Regions from separate parts of the Homo sapiens genome. Here regions 1 and 2 are each linked to region 3. The links are contacts of gene promoters, found by promoter capture Hi-C in human tissues and cell types (Jung and others, 2019). All regions are on one chromosome and are shown on one strand. Each heading gives the region's core, a stretch centred on a gene start or on the middle of the fragment in contact. The rest is flanking DNA. Distances are from core to core; before and after follow the strand shown. Region 1 overlaps GABRG3 (gamma-aminobutyric acid type A receptor subunit gamma3). Region 2 overlaps GABRG3 (gamma-aminobutyric acid type A receptor subunit gamma3). Region 3 holds the start of GABRG3 (gamma-aminobutyric acid type A receptor subunit gamma3).

Region 1 (3,782 bases), core at 437-2,936, 380 kb after region 3:
TCTGACTTCTCATCGCGTGTTCTCACTACTCAACACTGGGAGGAACCATTGAATTAAAAGTTCAAAATCAACTCGATATTTTCCAATTGTTTCTTTGTTTTTTCAAATGGATATCAGTAAATAAAAATGGACACATTCAGTATAAGCAGAAGCCTTCTGTCCTCAGGGAGTTCGCAGTGCAGTTGCAGGTAGGACAGATGGCGAAGGCGTGGGAGAGCAGTTACCCACAGATGACCAGATGTGTGTGGAAACCCCCTCCTCTCTACGTCCAGGGAGTCTGGAGGGAGTCTGGAGGGAGTCCAGCGCATCAACACCACCAGGGCCAGCGCTGGAGGATGGACGGTGCATGATGGGCCCAGGAGAGGGAGAGAGCCTGGTGAGGAAGTCCCCAGAGCCATGGGGGAGGAAGACAGCCCCAGACCTGGCAGACACCTGGCACTGGCCTGGGGCGAGTGCTGAGGTGAGGACAGACAGGCTTTGTGGCCTGGGCTGACAAAGGGTCTCCACAGCCCTTTATCAAGCCAGGCAGCCATGTATTTGTCCTTGTGAATGGTGTGTGTGTGTCGTGTGTGTTTGTGTGTGTGTATCATGTGTGTTTGTGTGTGTGTATCGTGTGTGTATGCTGTGTGTGCATATGGTGTGTGTTTGTGTGTGTATGGTGTGTGAATGCATTTACTTGTGTGTATGGTGTGTATGATGTGTTTGTGTGTATGGTGTATGTGCATATGGTGTGTGTGTGTGTATGGTATGTGTGTGTATAGTGTGTGTATGGTGTGTGTGTATGGTGTGTGTGTATGGTGCGTGTGTTTGAGTATGGTGTGTGTGTATGGTGCATGTGCGTATGGTGTATTTGTGTGTATGTATGGTATGTTTGTGTGTATGGTGTTTGTGCGTGTATGGTGTGTGTGTTTGTGTGTATGGTGTTTGTGTGTATGGTGTGTGTGTTTGTGTGTATATGTTGTGTGTATGGTGTGTTTGTGTGTATGGTGTATGTGTATGGTGTGTGTGTGTATGGTATATGTGTGTATGTGTGAGTGCCTTTGTGTGTGTATGGTGTGTGTGTATGGTATATGTGTGTATAGTGTTTGTGTGTGTGTATGTGTGTATGGTGTGTGTGTATATGGTGTGTGTGTTTGTGTGTGTATGTTTGTATGGTGTGTGTATGGTGTGTGTGTGTTGGTATGTGTGTATGGTGTGTTTGTGTGTGTGTTGGTGTGTGTATGGTGTTTGTGTGTGTATGGTGTATGTGTGTATGGTGTGTGTGTATGGCGTTTGTGTGTGTATGGTATGTGTGTGTATGGTATGTGTTTGTGTGTATGGTCTGTGTGTGTGTATGGGGTATTTGTGTGTGTTTGTGTGTATGGTCTGTGTGTGTGTATGGGGTATTTGTGTGTGTGTGTATATATATGTGTGTATGTATGAGTGTGTTTATGGTGTTTGTATAGTGTGTGTTTGTGTGTATGGTGTCTGTATATATGATGTGTGTGTTTATGGTGTATGTGTGTATAGTGTGTGTGTTTGTATGGTGTGTTTGTGTATGGTGTGTGCGTATGTATGATGTGTGTGTATGGTGTATGTATGTATAGTGTGTGTGTGTTTGTGTGTGTATGGTGTGTGTTTATCGTGTGTGTATGGTGTATGTCTGTATAATGTGTGTGTATGGTGTGTGTGTGTATATATGATGTGTGGGTTTATGGTGTATGCGTGTATAGTGTGTGTGTGTATGGTATGTGTGTATCGTGTGTGTGTGTATGGTGCATGTGTGTGTATGATGTGTGTATGTATGGTGTGTGTGTATGTATGATGTGTGTATTGTGTGTTTGTGTATGGTGTGTGTGTTTGTGTATGGTGTGTGTGTTTGTGTGTATCTTGGATCCTTTTAAGACTGCGTGGCAGTGTAGGGATTCTGCCAGACCGTTCAGCTAATCTCCGTCTCGCGCTCACTGTTCACAGCGTAAATCCAGACCCATAGTGAGAGGAAGAGGACCCAGGGAGAGCACGATTATCCCCCGCACACTTCAAGGGGTGATGGGGTGGGATCTCTGCCAATTTCTCTTATTCCGTTAGCTGAAGCTTAGAAAAATAACCCAGGAAATCCCACAAGATGTAAATCCAGGGTGAGCCAAGCAGATTGATAGTCTTCTAATTAGTACGAAAAAGATTCGAGAATTGGATCCTAGGAATGAGAACACAGGGGCCGGCAGTGTGTCTGGATGAGGAACTGTGCCGCCTGCTGTTCAGGTGCTATTTCTGTCCGACCTGTGGGACAGGCGCTCACACCACCCCACACTGCCCCGGGGAGGCAGGCCAAGGAAGCCCCCTGCCAAGGCAGCAGCCACATACCAAACCGTTGGGTGATATCGGTCTTGGTTATTGGTCCCTAGGATTGTGCTTGAGAAAGGAGCTCAGTGTCTTCCCCATATGCCACGTTTCACGCAGATGCATGGGGTGATATAGCGCAAGGTGGAGGGTGCAATATGGGGCCCAGGTATAGCAACACCTAACTCATAGGACTATGGGGGGCGTAAAATAAGACTCCAGCACATGCTCACTTGGTAAGTCATTGCATCTGCATTATCTTATCATCACGATTGCTGACAATGAGCCATTGAAAGCGAGTGGATCGTTTGATGGTTGGGTGTTAGGTATTTGAAGTGTGACGTCTACAAACCTCCCGACTTCTGTGTTCCTTCATGTTCTTTTCCCTTTTTATTACACAAAAACTCCTCCTTTGCAGACCTGAGAATTGTCCTTGATGTTTTTCCTTCCCTCCCTCACTGTCTTTGTAGGGACCCTGGCAGTTCCCTCTTGCCCCTACCTGGGCACCTACACACTGTTCTCATCAGAGTAGACACACTGGTCAGCTGTGTTCCTGTAACCAATCTCCATCTCACTGGGAACAAAAGGCCAGTCCTAACCATGGCCCCAAGGCTTCCCAGTACCTGCCTAGCCACTCTGCTTGCTCCTGCATAGGCTCAGCCACAGGGCGCATGTGTGTCCTACACTTGCTGGGCATGCCTGCCTCAGGACCCTGCAGCAGCTCTTCTCTTACACCGGTGAAATCCTCTTCCCATAGATGTGTGCATAGTTTTCTTTCTTTCTATTTATTTATTTATTTATTTATTTATTTATTTTTGAGATGGAGTTTCGCTCTGTTGCCCAGGCTGGAGTGCAATGGCACGATCTCAGCTCACTGCAACCCCTGCCTCCGGGGTTCAAGCAATTCTCCTACCTCAGCCTCCCGAGTAGCTGAGACTACAGGTGTGCACCACCACATCTGGCTAATTTTCATATTTTTATTAGAGATAGGGTTTTGCCGTGTTGGCCAGGCTGGTCTCGAACTCCTGACCTTAAGTGATCCACCCACCTCACCTCTCAAAGTGCTGGGATTACAGGGGTGAGCCGTGGTGCCCAGCCAGTATGTGCGTAGTTTTCAATCATTCTCCAGATCTTGGCTTCAAAGTAACCATATCCAAGAAGTCTTCCCAGATTCTTTGTGTAAACTAGTACCCGCTCCTCAGCCCTGGACTCCATTTTCTCTGAGATGCTGTGCATGGTCTAGTTTCTGTGTTCATTGCCTCTCCCACCCCATGGGGCACCATAAGGACAAGGAGTTTTCTTTGCTCTCTCCTGCACCTCCAGCCCCTGGGGCAATGCCTGGCTCTGTAAGGGCTCAGGAGGGAAGAAAGAAGGGAGGGAGGAAGGGCTTGATGAGGTAGCTGGCTGATTGCACAGTCATCACTTTGGCTCAGATCCAGGCCTGTACCGACTAAGAAGCTGGA
Region 2 (3,791 bases), core at 401-2,900, 400 kb after region 3:
AAAAAAAAAGGTATGCTGTTTAGACCACACTCTCTGAACATGTTTGCTCCCCAACTAAATTAGCAACCATCGATAGAATATGCCACAATTTTTCTTCCTCTCTTTTCCCTGAGACAGTGAACATTTTTTTTTCTGAATTGTATGTCATGTTTTCCCAGCCTGTCTGCAGTTCCCCAGTTGTGAATGTGTCACTAATCTCTTTCAGCCTTGGTGAGGCGATGCATATAAATTCATAAAGGAAATTCCTGATCACATTCTGTAAAAAGAAGATTATTTAGAAGCAGGAATCTATTTTGATAGAAGGAAAATCTAACCCTTTTTATAACTGCTTCTCTCTCTCCTTGTAGTTTGTGGTATTGAAGGTGGCCATATCTAGTTAATAATGCAAATCACAATACAAGGGCACCATTTGTAGTTAAGGTTAAATGATCTTCCAAGGCTTTTACTAATTGGCTGCCACAGACAAGCTGTAAAGGCAACTCGTTTCTATGGATTCTGACTTTTCTTGTTTGCATCCAAGTCTGTATATGTGAGGAGGACAAAAGGATTAGAAAGGGGTGATCTAGTTCCCTAAATCTCAGTTCTGTGCAAACAATTATAATGAATTCATCATCTCACATATATTAATATTTTATATAAACATATTTTAGAAAACACAAAATAACACTAAATATTCAAAAGTATCATACTATTTAAAATTAGAACATAGACGTGATGGGCAACATACAATTTGATAATGTTAATTCATTTAGATAGGTTAAAAACAAAGTGACATGCTGGATCTTTTTGTAAAACAACAAGAAATAGTCCTAGTAAATATCACTTCGATGTGGGCTTTAATTGCTTTTACTGTAATTAATACTGTTCAGTATTAATTGCTTTAATTGGCTTAGAACATAATTAGTAATATTTTATTAAGTTAATAAAAACCTCACGTATTGCACAAAATTATACTTAAGTATTAACTCAGCATTAAGCTTTAAGCCATGTATGTTTCATATGAGATATATATATATCACTATTATTCTGACTTCATTTTTAATTTTAGGAAAAACCAATATTTGAAATAATATCAGGAGTTTAGATGGGGCTAAAGATAATACTTGTATGTGTTTTGCGTCTGTTTTATCAGTATAACCTAGTTTGATAAACAACTGCACATTATTTACAAGAAGGAGCTGCTTACAGCCATAGAACACTTTGATTTTCATTTAAACTTTTTGTATTTATTTATTTATTTATTTAGTTTTTAGAAACAGGGTCTCGCTCAGTCACCCAGGCTGGAATGCAGTGGAGCAGTCATAGCTTACTGCAGTCTCAAACTCCTGGAGTCAAGCAATCCTCTCACCTCAGCCTCCCAAGTACCTGGGATTACAGGCACATGCCACCAGGTCCAAATCATTTTTTATTTTTTATAGAGATGGGGCCTCGTTTTGCTGCCCAAGCTGTTCTCAAACTCCTGGTTTCAAGTGATCCTCTTGCCTTGGCCTTCCGAAGTACTAGGCCACCGTGCCTGGCTTTAGTCCCCTTCTTAAAACTTAAGTCCACCACTAAATTTAAAGAGTTACTGTCATTGTGCCTGTTTCAATGGTCCAGCTCAAACTCTGTCTCCTCTTTGAATACTTCCCTGGCCTCTTCATACTCACTTCCCTCCTGGTGCCTCTGTCTCTCTCCCAGTCCCAGAACACTGTACCTTGAGTGGTTGTCACTGTACCTGTGAACTCTTTTTAGGCATTAGCCATAGGGTGGTGAGCTTTCTTCTTCTCAGCTACATTGCTTGGCAATGACTTCAGCTGTGGCCTCCAGCAAGCTATTTTCTCAGCTGGTTCAGTTTTCTTCACCTACAAAATGCTCATGACTTCCCTTGCCTACTTTACAGTATTGTAAAAGAGACAGCACGCAAATGCCACTAAAATGCAGTGAGAAGGGTGACGTGTACTAGAGAGACCCTAGCCTGGGATTTAGGATGCTTGGGCTCCAACTCTTAATCAGGAAAAGGTGCCTAATCTTTCTGAGTGTATTTCTACCTAGGAAATAACGAACTTGAATTATATGCTTCTAAATTATAATTTTCAAAAACTTAAGATGATTCTTATGAATATAAAATAAATACTGTCAAGTGTTTTTATCAACTCATTAATAAATAAGGAACTCAGTAAAATGACAATACCAGTTAAAGGAGCATTTAAGGAACTAGGCATTTGTAGAAAATTGAATAAAGATATGTTAAGGGAAAAGATTGCTGTATTAGATACAAACCTAGTAAATCCCTACAGGGAAATAAACCACAATCTTCCAGGCTATCTTTTCTGCCAGACAGAAATTATTTGGATCTCTGCTAGGCAAAAATTTACAAGTTAGCAAGTAACTTCACTATATTTGGGATGTTGAATTAATAGTTTTAACAATGTCTATTAAAAGGGCTTTTCCAATTCTAAAAAGCCCTGAATCAATATTACTAGCACTTAATTATATTAATGGTAATTCAATTACTAAAAAAAAATTACTTTGAAAATCTGACCTTTAGCAACTTCTGGCGCTTACTTTGCTGTTTGTTTTTGTTAACCCTCATATTACAAGAAAGTAAGTTTTCTCTCCGGATGATTTATGATTAAAACATGGATAATTTTATCTATAAACATTCAAATTATCATGAAAACACCAATAAAGGAGAATCCTCATCAGTTCTCCTGATCAGGTCAGCTGATGTTTTTTGTTTTTTTTCTCTGAAACACTATTACGTGTTGGCCACAATCTCCATGTAATATTAATCTGCTACCATCTAATATCTGCTTTCTAATACCATCTAATATCTTCATGTTTCATTATTTTGTTATTTATTTTCTCATCTCAGAGGAGATTCCAAAGTTCTTTAGTTTTTTAAGAATTCTTATGATTTTATAAATGCAATTCTAATTATCTTTGTCAAAAGGAGTTCAATCTGATGTATCCTAGAATTTTCTTTCCTTTTCTTTTCTTCTTTTTTTTTTTTTTTTTTTTTTTCAGTGTGTCACCCAGACTGGTGTGCAGTGGCAAGAACATGGCTCATTGCAGCCTTGACCTCCTCAGGCTCAGGTGATCCCCCCACAACAGCCTCCTGAGTAGCTGAGACTACAGGTTTGCACCACCATGCCTGGCTAATTTTTGTATTTTTTGTAGCAACTGTTTCACAGTGTTGCCCAGGCTAGTCTCGAACTCCTGGACTCAAGCAATCCTCCTGCCTCAGCCTTCTAAAGTGCTGGGATTATAGGCATGCACCACGGCACCAGTGAATTTTCTATTGATATATTTCCAATTTGAAATTTAGGAATCTATCTAATATTTTATTTGCCTGTTTTCAAGTTTGTTCTTGTTACACATAAACTAACATTTTATCCATACACCCTGGTTGTATATTGTCTATGCATTTCTATTGTTTAAGTGTGGGTTTGTGCAGAGCAGAACCTGTAGCAAGCACCGAGTCTGACTAGTGTATCTGGGAGGTGACCAAGGAAGCAAAGGTAGACAATAAGGAAATGAAACAGCCACGCCAAGGTGTGTGTGGAGCAGGTTACCATGTTGTGGACCACACCTCAGAGTTATCCTGATGGAGGACGAGGATGCTGAGGGTTTGTCCTCCAACTCAGTTCATTATTGGCTGAGGTCCTGACACTTCCAGTGGGCGGAAACTGTAGGAGAGAAGGGAAAACTTCCCCATTGCTCTTGGAAGGCTTGATGAACATCAACTGACAAAAGGCAGATGAATAGGAAAAAATGGCATGCAAATTTATTAATGTGCCCTGGGGACAATC
Region 3 (3,659 bases), core at 829-3,328:
TAGCCCAACAACAAATGTCAGCTGAGCACCTACTCAGGCAGACAGTATGGTATAGTGATTAGGAATGAAACATTGGAGCCAGCTGCCTGGCTTTTAACCCCCAGTCCTCACCTACTAGCTGTGTGATCCTGGGGTAAGCGACTTAACTTCTCTGTGCTTTTTCTCTATATGCGAAACGGAAATAATGTTGTGAGAGTTAAAATGAGTTAATCAATGTAAAGCCTTCCTGTCGGCCCTGGCCCCTGTTATGTGATCAATGTCAGATGGTTATTTTTACTTATGTTCCTATTACTGTGTTAAGAAGGGAAACACAAAAGAATTGTTTCTACTTGCAGCATTCTTGCAGCACACTCAGGCGTGGTGGCTCATGCCTGTAATCTCAGCACTTTGGGAGGCCGAGGCGAGCAGATTACTTGAAGTCAGGAGTTGCAGAAGAGCCTGGCCAACATGGTGAAACCCCATCTTTACTAAAAATACAAAAATTAGCCAGGCGTGGTGGTGGGTGCCTGTAATCCCAGCTACTCAGGAGGATGAGGCACGAGAATCACTTGAACCCGGGAGGTGGAGATTGCAGTGAGTCCAGATGACACTACTGCACTCCAGCCTGGGCGATAGAGTGAGACTCAAGTCTCTTATGTGGAGACGACATAAGCAATGAAGGAACAATAAATCATCATCTAACTGATTTTTAAAGTGCTCAGATTTTGGTACAGAAAATTAGAGATTAGGGCAGAGTATGATAAAGGCTCATATTCCCCTGAAGCCTAAAGGAGTGGTACAGGTGTTGGAAGTGGAAGAATGCAGGAGCGTCAGAGTCTTCATCAAAGAGGGGACCTTATAGGGCATGTGCACCTAAGTAGGAGGGATGTGCTGGGCAGAGGAGGATGAGAATGCCAGAAAGAGTCCTGGAAAGGCGGGGAGCTGGGTGAGTTCAGCACCTCACAGAGACAGAAAGGTGATGCCAGGGAGATGACAGCTCCATTGTTGAAAAACAATATTGTCATTAACAACTGCACTCCCCTCCACTTCATGCCTATCCAGAAACAAGGGGGAACACACCAGAGGAATACAGGCCCATGCCACCATGCCCAGCTAATTCTTTACTATTTTTTGTAGAGACAGGGTTTTTGCACATTGCCTAGGCTGGTCTCGAACTCCTGGGGTCAAGTGATCCGCCTGCCTCGGACTCCCAAAGTGCCGGGGTTACCGGCTTGGGCCACTGTGCCTGGCCGAACAAAGCTATTTGACAATATTAAAGAAACAGTTATCACACCCTTACATAATTCTATGAATAGCAGTTATAAAACATTTTCTAAGAACTTTTTGGGGGTGATAGAAATGTAAAATTCCTAGTGGATTTACTACACTGTTGCGATTGCAATACTTACATGGTGCAAGACTAACTTTCTGAATGATTATGACAAATGAAAGCGTAAATGCCATTTTCGGTTTTTGGAATATGAAAATACATGGAATGAGGCGCACCTCATGCTTCCACCAAACGGAACGTCTTTGGCTTCTTGCCTTAGGATCTTTCTAGCTCCTACCTTTAACATGCCTTTCCACCTCTACTGTTTATTGCTATGTGTTAGTCTCTCTTTTCTGTAAGAAAGGCATAAATCTGGGGTGCTTTTTTCCCAAATATTCCCGCAGAAAGCCACCTTTCCAAGCACAGAATCTTATCAGTGCCTAGGAGTTCAGCCGACTTAGCACGAAGAGTGCGATGGAAGGGCTGCTTTTGGCAAACCGTCTCAACCCCGGGCGACGGCGGGCACGGGAGGTCAGGGAGCGCTGGAGGAAACCTGCACTGGGGTAGAAATGGCTGGAGGAAGGCGGACCGCGGGCTCGCTCTCATGGTGCCAACCCCGGGGACCTTTCTTCAGGCTCCCTGCGGGATCCCCAGCCTCCCCTCCCCCTCGGAGCTCCGCCCCCTTCCTGGCCTCAAACTCCGAGTCCATTCAAACCTCGCCTTCCTCGCCCTGCGCGTTGTCAGGCGTGTAATTGGGGAAACTCCTCCCCGCCGGGACCGCCTCGGAGGCGCTGCCAGGGGACAGCCGCCCAGCTGCCCCCACCTCCCAGCACAGCGCACACAGCCCCGGCCTGGGCACCCGCGCCCGCTCGCGGCTCCAGGCGGGGTGGGCGGCGCCGCGCCAGGGGGTCCCCGGCGCCCATTGCTCCCGCCGCCCGGTTGCGCGGACCGGCGCTAGTGCGCGGGTGGGGGCGGCGCGCCGCGGTGGCCCGGCGTCCCGTGTGCGTCCAGTGTGCGCCCCGCGGGGGCGCGGCCAGCGCCAGAGTAGATACCTGTCCCGCCCGCCGCGGCCAGCAGCCTCGGAGGAAGCCAGGGCAAAGAGGGCCGGCGGAGACCAGGTCCGCGCCGGAGGAAGCCGCGCCCGGCCGAGGCCCCGGACCCTGCGCCCCGAGCTCCACGGCACCATGGCCCCGAAGCTGCTGCTCCTCCTCTGCCTGTTCTCGGGCTTGCACGCGCGGTAAGTGGCGCGGGGGCCGCATCCCCGGAGGCCCCGAGCTGGGCGACAGGGCGGCGGGGGGCGCTGTCTGCTGGAGTCCCTGGCGCGCCAGCCGTCGGCTGGGCTGCGGCACGGCGGGCCGGGAGGGGACTGGGAAGTCGGTCTGCACCTCACCTGTCCCAGCTCCCTTGGACACGGTCATCTGCTTTTTCCTCTGCAGCCGGGAGTGTGGGGACTCAGATTAATGGGCTCGTCTCCTGACGCTTTTAGGATCTGGTGGTTTTAAGGGGTTTTGAGAACCAGGTTCAGGGGGCAGGGGCCATTTCTGGCTCCTTACCGACCCCTAATTCCCACCTCAGCTGTTTCAGGGGCTCACACACACACACACTTTGGCTGACATTCTCTGTCATTTCCATCACTCTGAAATTTCCAAGAACCCGGGAACCGTGGTTCTAACTGCCTAGTTTAGACCGGGCTGGAAAGAGCTAATGCATTGGAGGCAGGCGCGGGGGGATTGGAACCAGGTGGGCAGAAGAAAGCCCTGCTTGTCTGGGAGGACTCCCCTCCCAGGTCCTGCAAACACACACACACACCTTCCACATCAGCCACTTTCACACAGAGGAACACACGCACTCCCACCCCCATAAAGCACGCATGTCGAAATGGATAATAAGGCTTCTGCCTGGTAATGTAAGAAATCATCTCACCATAAATTCCGCAACCTTCCTCCCAGTACACCAACCGGCTAATGGGAGCTTAGAATCACTCTAGAAGAGATGAAGAGGGCGCATGAGGATACAAGGACAGTGGGACCCAAAGGGTTAAATCCTGTTGCTGTAAACACAACTGGAGATTCTGGGTTTAGTTTCTTTAATTCTGTCTCTCTGGCTGGATTTCTGGCTAGAGCTTGCAGACTGTCCTGTTATTTGAAAATTGGAGCAGTGTCTGGCCTTTACCTCTTTCCCCACCCTAGGAAGCTCAGCGTGCCCCTATCCCCCAAACCCTCTTGTTTTGACGCTTCTCCATTTCCTGGGTCTGGGAGCTAGAGAATCAGAGGGCATCCTTGCGTGCACAAGCCTGGCCACCATCAGGAGGCAATGCCAGGAGGCCTTGCCTTTTCATTCCTATTTGTGAACTACCAAGGAGCTAGGAAGACACATGAATAAATCCTACTAAACATGAAGGGGGCCCCCA

What was found. The method cuts DNA at HindIII sites, captures the fragments that hold promoters and counts their contacts. A contact is called where the count stands out against the background at its distance.
Region 1: a contact is called between a fragment that was not itself captured here and the fragment with the promoter of GABRG3 in region 3, in 1 of the 25 tissues and cell types used here (dorsolateral prefrontal cortex).
Region 2: a fragment that was not itself captured here is called in contact with the fragment with the promoter of GABRG3 in region 3 in 1 of the 25 tissues and cell types used here (dorsolateral prefrontal cortex).

The regions. Positions count from the first base shown.
Region 1 is chr15:27,350,326-27,354,107 of GRCh38, forward strand. The region is part of intron 5 of GABRG3 (gamma-aminobutyric acid type A receptor subunit gamma3); the gene reads left to right. Among named protein-coding and RNA genes, the nearest start is that of GABRG3-AS1, 190 kb to the left of the region's middle. The HindIII fragment of the contact is 6,669 bases long and covers 1-3,782 here.
Region 2 is chr15:27,371,159-27,374,949 of GRCh38, forward strand. All of the region lies in intron 5 of GABRG3 (gamma-aminobutyric acid type A receptor subunit gamma3), which reads left to right. Among named protein-coding and RNA genes, the nearest start is that of GABRG3-AS1, 210 kb to the left of the region's middle. The HindIII fragment of the contact is 4,328 bases long and covers 1-3,791 here.
Region 3 is chr15:26,969,103-26,972,761 of GRCh38, forward strand. It overlaps GABRG3 (gamma-aminobutyric acid type A receptor subunit gamma3), which reads left to right and starts at 2,079. Exons shown (of 10, transcript NM_033223.5): 1 at 2,079-2,486. The coding sequence starts at 2,434. The HindIII fragment of the contact is 15,270 bases long and covers 1-3,659 here.